3 separate regions of the Homo sapiens genome follow, and regions 2 and 3 are each linked to region 1. Evidence: promoter capture Hi-C in human tissues and cell types (Jung and others, 2019). All regions are on one chromosome and are shown on one strand. The core of a region is centred on a gene start or on the middle of the fragment in contact, and the rest is flanking DNA. Distances in the headings are between cores, read along the strand shown. Region 1 holds the start of ITGB2 (integrin subunit beta 2). Region 2 holds the start of AGPAT3 (1-acylglycerol-3-phosphate O-acyltransferase 3). Region 3 overlaps MCM3AP (minichromosome maintenance complex component 3 associated protein).

What was found. Contacts are between HindIII fragments. The study calls those that stand out against the background at their distance.
Region 2: the fragment with the promoter of AGPAT3 here is called in contact with the fragment with the promoter of ITGB2 in region 1 in 1 of the 25 tissues and cell types used here (spleen).
Region 3: a contact is called between a fragment that was not itself captured here and the fragment with the promoter of ITGB2 in region 1, in 1 of the 25 tissues and cell types used here (heart right ventricle).

Annotation. Positions count from the first base shown.
Region 1 is chr21:44,919,431-44,922,291 of GRCh38, forward strand. ITGB2 (integrin subunit beta 2) reads right to left here and starts at 1,469. Exons shown (of 16, transcript NM_000211.5): 1 at 1,391-1,469. It overlaps ITGB2-AS1 (ITGB2 antisense RNA 1), which reads left to right and starts at 1,605. Exons shown (of 3, transcript NR_038316.1): 1 at 1,605-1,897. RefSeq lists a silencer at 60-119. The HindIII fragment of the contact is 46,650 bases long and covers 1-2,861 here.
Region 2 is chr21:43,863,421-43,866,494 of GRCh38, forward strand. AGPAT3 (1-acylglycerol-3-phosphate O-acyltransferase 3) reads left to right here and starts at 1,803. Exons shown (of 10, transcript NM_020132.5): 1 at 1,803-1,925. RefSeq lists silencers at 862-1,221, 1,772-2,121, 2,242-2,561. The HindIII fragment of the contact is 11,781 bases long and covers 1-3,074 here.
Region 3 is chr21:46,257,820-46,260,817 of GRCh38, forward strand. It overlaps MCM3AP (minichromosome maintenance complex component 3 associated protein), which reads right to left. Exons shown (of 28, transcript NM_003906.5): 15 at 2,974-2,998; 16 at 1,120-1,272. Among named protein-coding and RNA genes, the nearest start is that of MCM3AP, 26 kb to the right of the region's middle. The HindIII fragment of the contact is 8,306 bases long and covers 1-2,998 here.

The DNA of each region.
Region 1 (2,861 bases), core at 219-2,718:
GGCCACTCTTGGTAAAGTGCTGGCCCCCGGGGATTCTGCAGTGAGCTGGGCATGGATTCTGCAGTGAGCTGGGCTTCACTCATGGTGAAACGCTGGGGTGACGGCAGACAGCCCAGAGCTTCTAGCAGCTCATTTCTGTGAAGCCTCCAGAATCCGGCCTCAGCCCCCAAACCCGCAGGCGTTGCGCCACCGTCACGGGGAAGGCGAGTGACAGCGAGTGTCCCCTATGCCCCCACAGCTCGCTCCCAGGCTGAGCTCTCCGGCCATCCCCCCCCTTCCCCATTGCAGCCATGCCACCCCTCCTTCTCCCCACCCAGGAACTGACAGAGGAGAGGGGCCCCGGATGGACAGGGACAGCAGGGCAGAATCCCAGCTCCCAGATCCAGGGGAGGGGGGATTGGGTGTGGGGACGGTGGTGCAAGGGGTGGTGCCAGGGGTGGAGGATGCATGGGGAGGGCTGGCCCCAAGAGTGCAGTGTTGGGGGAAGGGGGCCAGGTGGGCCTGGGACCCAGGGGCGTGGCTTCAATCCCCCTCCCACCAGGACCTTGGGAATGGCCTCCAGGAGCCTGTTGTGGGGAGGCCAGGGTCACCAGCTGAACCAACTCGACCAGAATCGCACAGCGGTGCCCGCTCCCCTACAGCAAGACGTCACCCAGGGGTCCCCACGGAGGAGGCAGGGAAGCTCGAGGGTCCCAGAGGAGCATGGAGCATGTGCCACACCACACCACACTACATTACACATGTGCACCATACATGTACATACAACAGACTCCCCACATCACATGCGCACACTCGCACACCATACATGCACACACACACACCACACTACGCTATGCCACACACGTGCACCATACATGCACACCATGCCACACTACACACACGACACTACACACCACGAACCACACCACACCATATCACACACCACACACTGCGAGTCGATCTGGAGATGGAATCGCTGTAGCCAGGCGGGGCAGCATGCAGACAGGAGGGCCTAACACAGGCAGGCGCAGCAGGTTCACAGAGGAGGCCCCGGGAACCTGCCTCCTGCCCAGCCCGGAGCACCAGGACCCCCCAGCCGTCCCCCTAGGGGCTTGTGGGCCCAGCCTCTTCCTGGCCTTGCCGGCCTCACAGCCCCTTGTCCTCCCATGCCGGCCCCATCCTCAGCCGCAAGCGCTCCCAGCACACCATGTGGCTCTGCTCTTGGTGGCAGGCACTTCCCCTTGCCGGGTCTCAAAGGGGACCCTGGAGCAGACGGTCTGGAGACCCCTTCCTGCCAGACACCCCTGGGCCGGGGCTATAAGCAGGGCCACCAGGGTCACTCCAGGCTGGGGCAGGAGAGTGCTTCCCTCCAAAAATCACCGTGGACATAGCGGGGCCTCTGCACACTCACCCTCGGTGTGCTGGAGTCCTCGGCGGTGCTCCTGGCTGGGCGTGGGGGCTTTGCTACCAGTCTGCCCTGGGTCACGTCTAGAAACCTCAGCTGGAGGCGCGGGTCGTAAAGTCCTGACACTTCCTGTTCCTCTCAGCTCCTCCTTGGAGGAAGTGGTGGGTTGCACCACCGTGGCCCTTCACCCCTGCCCCTCTCCGCTCTACAGCAGCTCTGATGTCAGAGAGCGGCCCCTTGAGACAGGTGGGACATGTCATTTCTCACATGAGGTCCCGGCGAGAAGGACCTGCTTCCATCAGATTCACACTTGGGAGAGGGGCCCGGCCTCCAGGAGCGCCAGGCAGAAAGGGCACCCATTAGGAAGAAGAACACAGAGGCCATGGGAGTGAAAAGTTTGATGCTGGAAAGCAACAGTAGCACATTCTGCTACAGAGCGGAATGAAAAACCCTGGGGAGCAAATTCCTGAGCCAGAGAATGGAGCGGAGGAACCAGCCAAGGAGGATAAAGAGGTGGGAACAGGCAAGAAAACCTGGGTGCGTGCACGCATTGACATCCACCTGCATGTGAGGGCGGGAGGGGACAGAACAGGGACAGCGAGGAGGAGACACTCAGGTCACAGGAGGAAGGCTGCGGATCTGGGCGGGGACGTGGATTGCGAGGCCACTGAACACCCCAGGGATGGATGGATGAGGTCCTGTTAACTAGGGACATTAGGAGGATACCACAGAACACGAAAGGGAAAATACTACAGGCTCAGAGAGAGAGAGAAGGGAGAGGAGGAGGAGGAGGAAGAGGAGGGAAAGAGATTATACCTAGAAAAAAAACCCAAATCAGACATCTTCAGAGCAAGGACTCAGACACATTACTACCCTAAACTCTGTTTTATTTATTTATTTATTTTTATGTTTTCAGTTTTTTTTGAGACAGAGTTTTGCTTTTGTCACCCAGGCTGGAGTGCAGTGGCGTGATCTCAGCTCACTGCAACCTCTGCCTCCCGGGTTCAAGCAATTCTCCTGCCTCAGCCTCCCAAGTAGCTGGGATTACAGGCACATGTACCACCACGCCTGGGTAATTTTTGTATTCTTAGTAGAGACAGGGTTTCACTATGTTGACCAGGCTGGTCTTGAACTCCTGGCTTCAAGTGATCCATCCACCTCTGCCTTCCAAAGTGCTGGGATTACTGGCGTGAGCCATGGCTCCCGGCTCCTAAACTCTGTTTTAAAGATGTCTTGCAGAAATAGACATGAAGAAATCCATGAGAAATACAAGAGCAGATGATACAAAGTTGGGCAAAGAAATAAGTAAAAATTATGATGTCATAACCTGTTGATTTAAAAAATAGTGGTAAGAATATTAACGCTGTGAAACAAAACGCCTAGAGGACTGGGTTGGGAGGGGCCAGGGAGCACATTGCCGTTCCATCCTATCTGGGGAGGAATATAGATGCTTGTCAGTGGGCATTTTGATAGAAAA
Region 2 (3,074 bases), core at 553-3,052, 1.1 Mb before region 1:
TAACAGATCTTGGAGACTATATCCTATCTGTGTACACAGAATTATCACATCACAACTTTAGAAAATGTTTTAAATTAAAAATGCTAAATGAATGTTCTAGAGTTTATTTAACCAAGTGTCTGGTTGTTCTCAGGCTTCCTGTGATTATAGGTATAGCTGTAAGTCAGCACATCCCTGTATCCACACATCCCGTGGTGCCTGTGAGAATTTATCTGTGGCACAGATTACCCAAAATGACATGAGGGGTGAGAGGTTTTACAAATGGTGAATTCCACGAGCTTTGCAAATCTTAACTCCTTTTTCAAGAATAAGGGAACTGTGAGTAGGACAGGTGCACGGTACTTTCATTTTATTTTAGTCTAAGTATTTTCTGAAATAATTTGAGGAGGCTTAAAGGGAGGTGCAAGCTGGGTGCGGGGGCTCATACTTGTAATCCCAGCACTTTGAGAGGAGGAGGTGGGAGAATACTTGAGCTCAGGAGTTCGAGATCAGCCTGGGCAACACCGTGAGGCCCCATTTCTACAAAAAAAATTTTTTTTAAATTAGCCAGACATGGTGGTGTGTGCCTGTGGTCCCAGCTACTTGGGAGGCTGAGGTGGGAGGATCACTTGAGCCCTGGAGTTCAAGGCTTCAGCGAGCTATGATTGTACCACTGCACTCCAGGGTGGGCGACAGAGCAAGACCCTGTCTCAATAATAATAAAAATAAAAAAAAAAAAAAGGAAAAAAAGGGGCACAGTAGACAGTACCAGTACTTGGTATTTTAAATGGTTTTCAAATGAAGCCCACCCAAGCTCAGCAAGTCCAGCCGGGGCCTGAGGACCTGAGCAGGCGCCAGGTCACACAAGGTACCGGGCGCAGGAGGCGGAGCCCGCAGCGGGCCCTGCCCTGACAGCGGCACCTGCGCGGCCTCCGCAGGTTCTGGGATCGGCCGCTGGCCAGGTGCAAGGGAGGGGGGACGGCAGCCGCTGTCCTGGGGCTGAGAGGGCTCCGCGGTCTGGAGGGGACGGCGTCAGCGCCCGCGGGGGTTCGCAGGGCAGCCCCGGGGCGACCCCCACCCCCGCCACGGTCAAGTGTCGATACAGTGTTGCCAGCCGGGTGCCAACTATGAATAAGTCCAAGGGCGCGGCACGTGGGCCGAAACGCGATCCTTCCGCGGAGCCGCTGCGCGCAGGGCCGTCCCCACCGAGCCCGCCGCGCGGCGACCCCTGACGGCGACCCTAAGCCCCGGCCGACCAGGGCAGGAGCTCGCGCGCGAAACTTCCCCGGCGCCCGCAGGAGACCCCGGCAGGGGAGATGGCGGGGCCCAGGCAGAGCTCGGAGGCCCCTCCCGGCCCCACCCCGCGCCCCGGCCCCCTCTGCCCCCGACCCGGTCCGGGGGAGCCCTCGCGGGACCCCAGCCTGGTCCTTCGCCGCCTCCCCCCGTTCAGCCCCGACCCCCCTGATCCCCGCGCCCCCCGCGGTCCCGGCCCGCCCCCTCCCCCAGCCCGGGCCCCAGCCCCGTCCGTTAGCGGATCCCACGCAGGCTCCGCGCCCGGCCCCGCCGGCGCCCTCGGCCCACACCTCTCTCCGCGCGCGTGTCCCGCCGTGTCGCCCCCGTGTCCCCTCCGCGTCCCCCCCCGCGCCGTCCCCCCGCGTCCCCCCCCGCGTCCTTCCCCCGTGTCCCCCCAGCGTGTCCCTCGGCCGCCCCGCGCGCGCCGGCGGAACTGTGGGATCGCCGCGCACAGGAAGTGGCGGCGGCGGCGCGGCCGAGGGCGGAGGGCGGAGGGCGGCGGGATGGGGGCCGGGGGCGGCGGGCGCCGCACTCGCTGAGGCCCCGACGCAGGGCCGGGCCGGGCCCAGGGCCGAGGAGCGCGGCGGCCAGAGCGGGGCCGCGGAGGCGACGCCGGGGACGCCCGCGCGACGAGCAGGTGGCGGCGGCTGCAGGTGAGCACCGAGGCCCCCACCCGAGGTCGGGCCGCCCCCCTCTTCCCCCACGCCCCGCCGCCGCCCGAGGTCGCCCTCCCGCCGCCGGAGGTCGCCCCTGCCCCAGCCGTCCGACCTCGGGCCGCCCGGGGCCCCGCGCCGCAATGGGCCGGCCGCGCTCCGCGGGGCGCGGGGCCTGGGAAGGCGCGGGGCCGGGAGGAGGTCTGGGCCCGGGTCCTGTGCGCCCCCCGCAACCCCGGCCTCCCCGGCGGCCTGGTCCAGCGCGAGGCCCCGGCCGCTTCCCGCAGCAGCCTCGGTGGCGCTGGGCCCAGCGGGGAGGCCCGGGGGTTCGGGGCGCCCGGGAGGGGCCCGGGCCGGGCCGAGGGAGGGCGAGTGGGTTCCCGCGGGGACGTCCCATCCCTCCGTCCTGGACTCTGCTCCGGGCCCCGCTCGGCTCCCCCGTGGACAGGACGCGCCCGCCGCCTGGTTTCGGGGCGCGGCGGACCCGGGACCCCCCCCAGGGGCCTCCTCCTCGCGCGCCCAGGCCAAGGGAGCAGTTTCACTTTTGCCGCTCCGCGCGGGGAGGGCTGCGGGGCCCGGGGTTGGCTGTGGGTTCGGCCCGGAGACCGGCGGCGCGTTTGCACCGGGCGGGTCAGGGGATGGGGTCAGTCCGGGGGCAAGAGCCGTGGGGGCGAAAACCCACTCCTGGCCACCCCAGGACCCTTGGAACATTGGTCCCAAGTACTTAGGAAAGGAGGGTTATTAGTATTTGAAGGCAGTTAAAAATGGTGCAGTGTTTTTTTTTTTTTTTTTAACTTTGAGAGAAGTTTAGTGACATGGGGAAAATGCTTTTATAAATGGCTTCCCAGACCTTTAAAAAAAAAAAAGCACAATTTTAAAAGCTTTGTCTAGGAGAATACTTGAGCAGTTGGGTTCTTTTTCCTGGGAAACATGATCTTAGTAGAAGAAAGATGTGGGCTGTTGGCCTCCAGACAGAGGGTGATGAGCATGCGGCTCTTATTAAAAATGAAAGCCAACGCCGAGAGCCTGCTGGGGGCTGGGAGGTGGGGCGGGCGGCGGGCCCAGGCTGCTAGAGGGACCCAGGATCCTGCAGCTTTTAAATTGCAGGCGCGGCTGCTCCGACTCGACTCGCTTAGGAATTGCTGAACT
Region 3 (2,998 bases), core at 499-2,998, 1.3 Mb after region 1:
GAGGCTGAGGCAGAAGAATCACTTGAACCTGGGAGGTGGAGGTTGCAGTGAGCTGTGATTGCGCCACTGCACTCCAGCCTGGGCGACAGAGTGAGACTCCATCTCAAAAAAAAAAAAAAAAAGAGCCACATGAAAGTCCATCAACAGAAGACCAGGAAGGTCATTTATGGTACATTATCGCACTGACCTCAAGACCACTGGCAACGGGGACAGCTCAGCATGCTGCTACAGCCAAGCCTCCACCTCATATCAGATGGAGCAAAGGAAGGCTCAGAGCAAAGCAGGGATCATGAGCCCATCTGTGCCAAGAGCCACAAGAAAGGACAGAAAGTCTCTGGATGGTTTCGCAAGCAGCTGCTGCTCGCACAATGGACAGGGGTCTGTTGTAGAAGGAAGACTCACTTCTCCCCATACTCCCTTTTATACTGTTCCAACTACCAAGGACACTATTACTGATTTTAAATTTTATTATGAAATGAATCATACAACATACGTAACACATATATGCCCAGTTATAAGATTAATAAATCATCAAGCACCTGTGCACTTACACCCAGTTGAGAAGTTGTGGCCATGAGAGGCACCACCTCCCATTCCCAAAAGTAACCACTATGCTGAGATTATGATCATTATTTTCCTTCTTTTCTTTAGGGTTATACCACTATATATAAATCTGAAACAACCTATTTAGTTTGAATATACACTATTTGTATATTCCCTATTAATTGCTTTTTCTCCACTACTTATATTTTGAGAATTCACCCTTATTGGTGCATGCAGCCATAATCTGGCTTGTTCATAGCTGTCTCCCAGCACCTAGTGCAGTGGGCAAATGGCAGGCACCCTATAAATATCAGTTGACATACAGAGTAGCCACCACGTCCCAATCTAACTCCTGACTTTTCCCCTTATATTGTATGTGTGTGTGTGTGTGTGTGTAATCAAGTATTTCTGAAATGCAGTATAATCCAATTAGTCTATTTTAGGTATTCATTGCTATAACATTTTCCCTCATCCTTTTACCACTGAATACAGAAACTAATAGCTCATATATTTTGAATTTGTTAAAAGACTCTTCCCCGTGTGTGTGGATTTTGCCTGTAGGAACACAGGACTCACCGCTGTAGATACTTGCAGAAGCACTGAAGCTCCTGGAGGGTCTCCTTTGCAGTCTGGAAGATTTCCTCCACGAGAAACAAGTCCACTAAGTGGGCACAGACATCCTCACAGCAACGGGCCACACGGACCCTCTGGTCTGTCTCTACTGCATTCCTAGAAACAGGGCAATCAGCATGGAAGACACTGCACTTGGGGCCCACAGACACTGAGGGCTTGCTTGAAAAGTGCAAGAGTCAGTCAGGCGCGGTGGCTCACGCCTGTAATCCCAGCACTTTGGAAGGCCGAAGCGGGTGGATCATGAGGTCAAGAGATCCAGACCATCCTGGCTAACATGGTGAAACCCTGTCTCTACTAAAAATACAAAAAAATTAGCCTGGTGTGGTGGCGGGCGCCTGTAGTCCCAGCTACTCGGGAGGCTGAAGCAGGAGAATGACGTGAAGCCGGGAGGCAGAGCTTGCAGTGAGCAGAGATCGCGCCACTGCACTCCAGCCTGGACGACAGAGCGAGACTCCGTCTCAAAAAAAAAAAAAAAAGAAAAGTGCAAGAGTCGGCCAGGCACAGTGGCTTACACCTGTAATCCTAGCTCTTTGCGAGGCCAAAGCAGGCAAATCACTTCAGGTCAGGAGTTCGAAACCAGCTTGGCCATCATGGTAGAACCCCGTCTCTACTAAAAATACAAAAAATTAGCTGGCGGCCAGGCACGGTGGCTCATGCCTGTAATCCCAGCACTTTGGGAGGCCAGGGCAGGCGGATCACGAGGTCAGGAGATCGAGACTATCCTGGCTAACACGGTGAAACCCCGTCTCTACTAAAAATATGAAAAATTAGCCAGGCATATTGGCAGGCTCCTGTAGTCCCAGCTACTCAGGAGGCTGAGAATGGCGTGAACCCGGGAGGCGGAGCTTGCAGTGAGCCGAGATGGCACCACTGCACTCCAGCTTGGGTAACAGAGTAAAACTCCATTTCAAAAAAAAAAAAAAAAAAAAAATTAGCTGGGCATGGCGGTGCATGCCTGTAATTCCAGCTACTTGGGAGGCTGAGCTAGGAGAATCGCTTGAACCCAGGAGGCAGAGGTTGCAGTGAACCCAGATCACGCCACTGCACTCCAGTGTGGGCGACAGAGCAAGACTCCGTCTTTAAAAAAAAAAAGTGCAAGAGTCTGCATCCTCAGTATTAAAATGTAATTCTATCTTCATTGTAAAAGAAGCTTTAATACTTAAACTACAGACACCTAGAAAGACAGGGTAAAAAGAATTAAGTGGAACAGGGTGCCAAATTATAGGTCCATAGGGGCCCTCGTAACAGTTAAGAAATAAACCTTTATCTTAATAAAATAGTCAGAATTTTTAATTATTTTAGAGACAGGGTCTCACTATGTTGCCCAGGCTGGAGTACAGTGGCCACCACAGGTGCAGTCATAGCACACTACCTGGAACTTCTGAGCTTAAGTGATCTTTGCACCTCAGTCTCTTGAGTTGCTGGGACTACAGGTGCCTGGCGTAGAATTTGTAAATTACCATGCAGACAACCACAAAATCTTCTCATCAGCAACATCTGACTTGTGCAATCAATTGGAAGTGTCTCAAATATATGATAAATGCCAGTGGCTAATAAGGATGGCTGACTATGATCATGTGGTGGCAGCCCTCATATAAAAGAGAATTTTTTATAATAAAATTCTATTAGCCAAGGGAGCACAGAGGACTGCATCAAATACATTTGGTCACAAAATCAAAGTAGCTTAGACAGGCAAGATCCATTTCCAATAGCCCATCCTCAGTGGTGCAAGACACAGCCTAGGGCAGAGCCAAAGCTCACTCTCCTGGCACAGCAAGACACCAGCGTTTCACTTACTTCAACTCCTGGGAGCAGGTTTCCC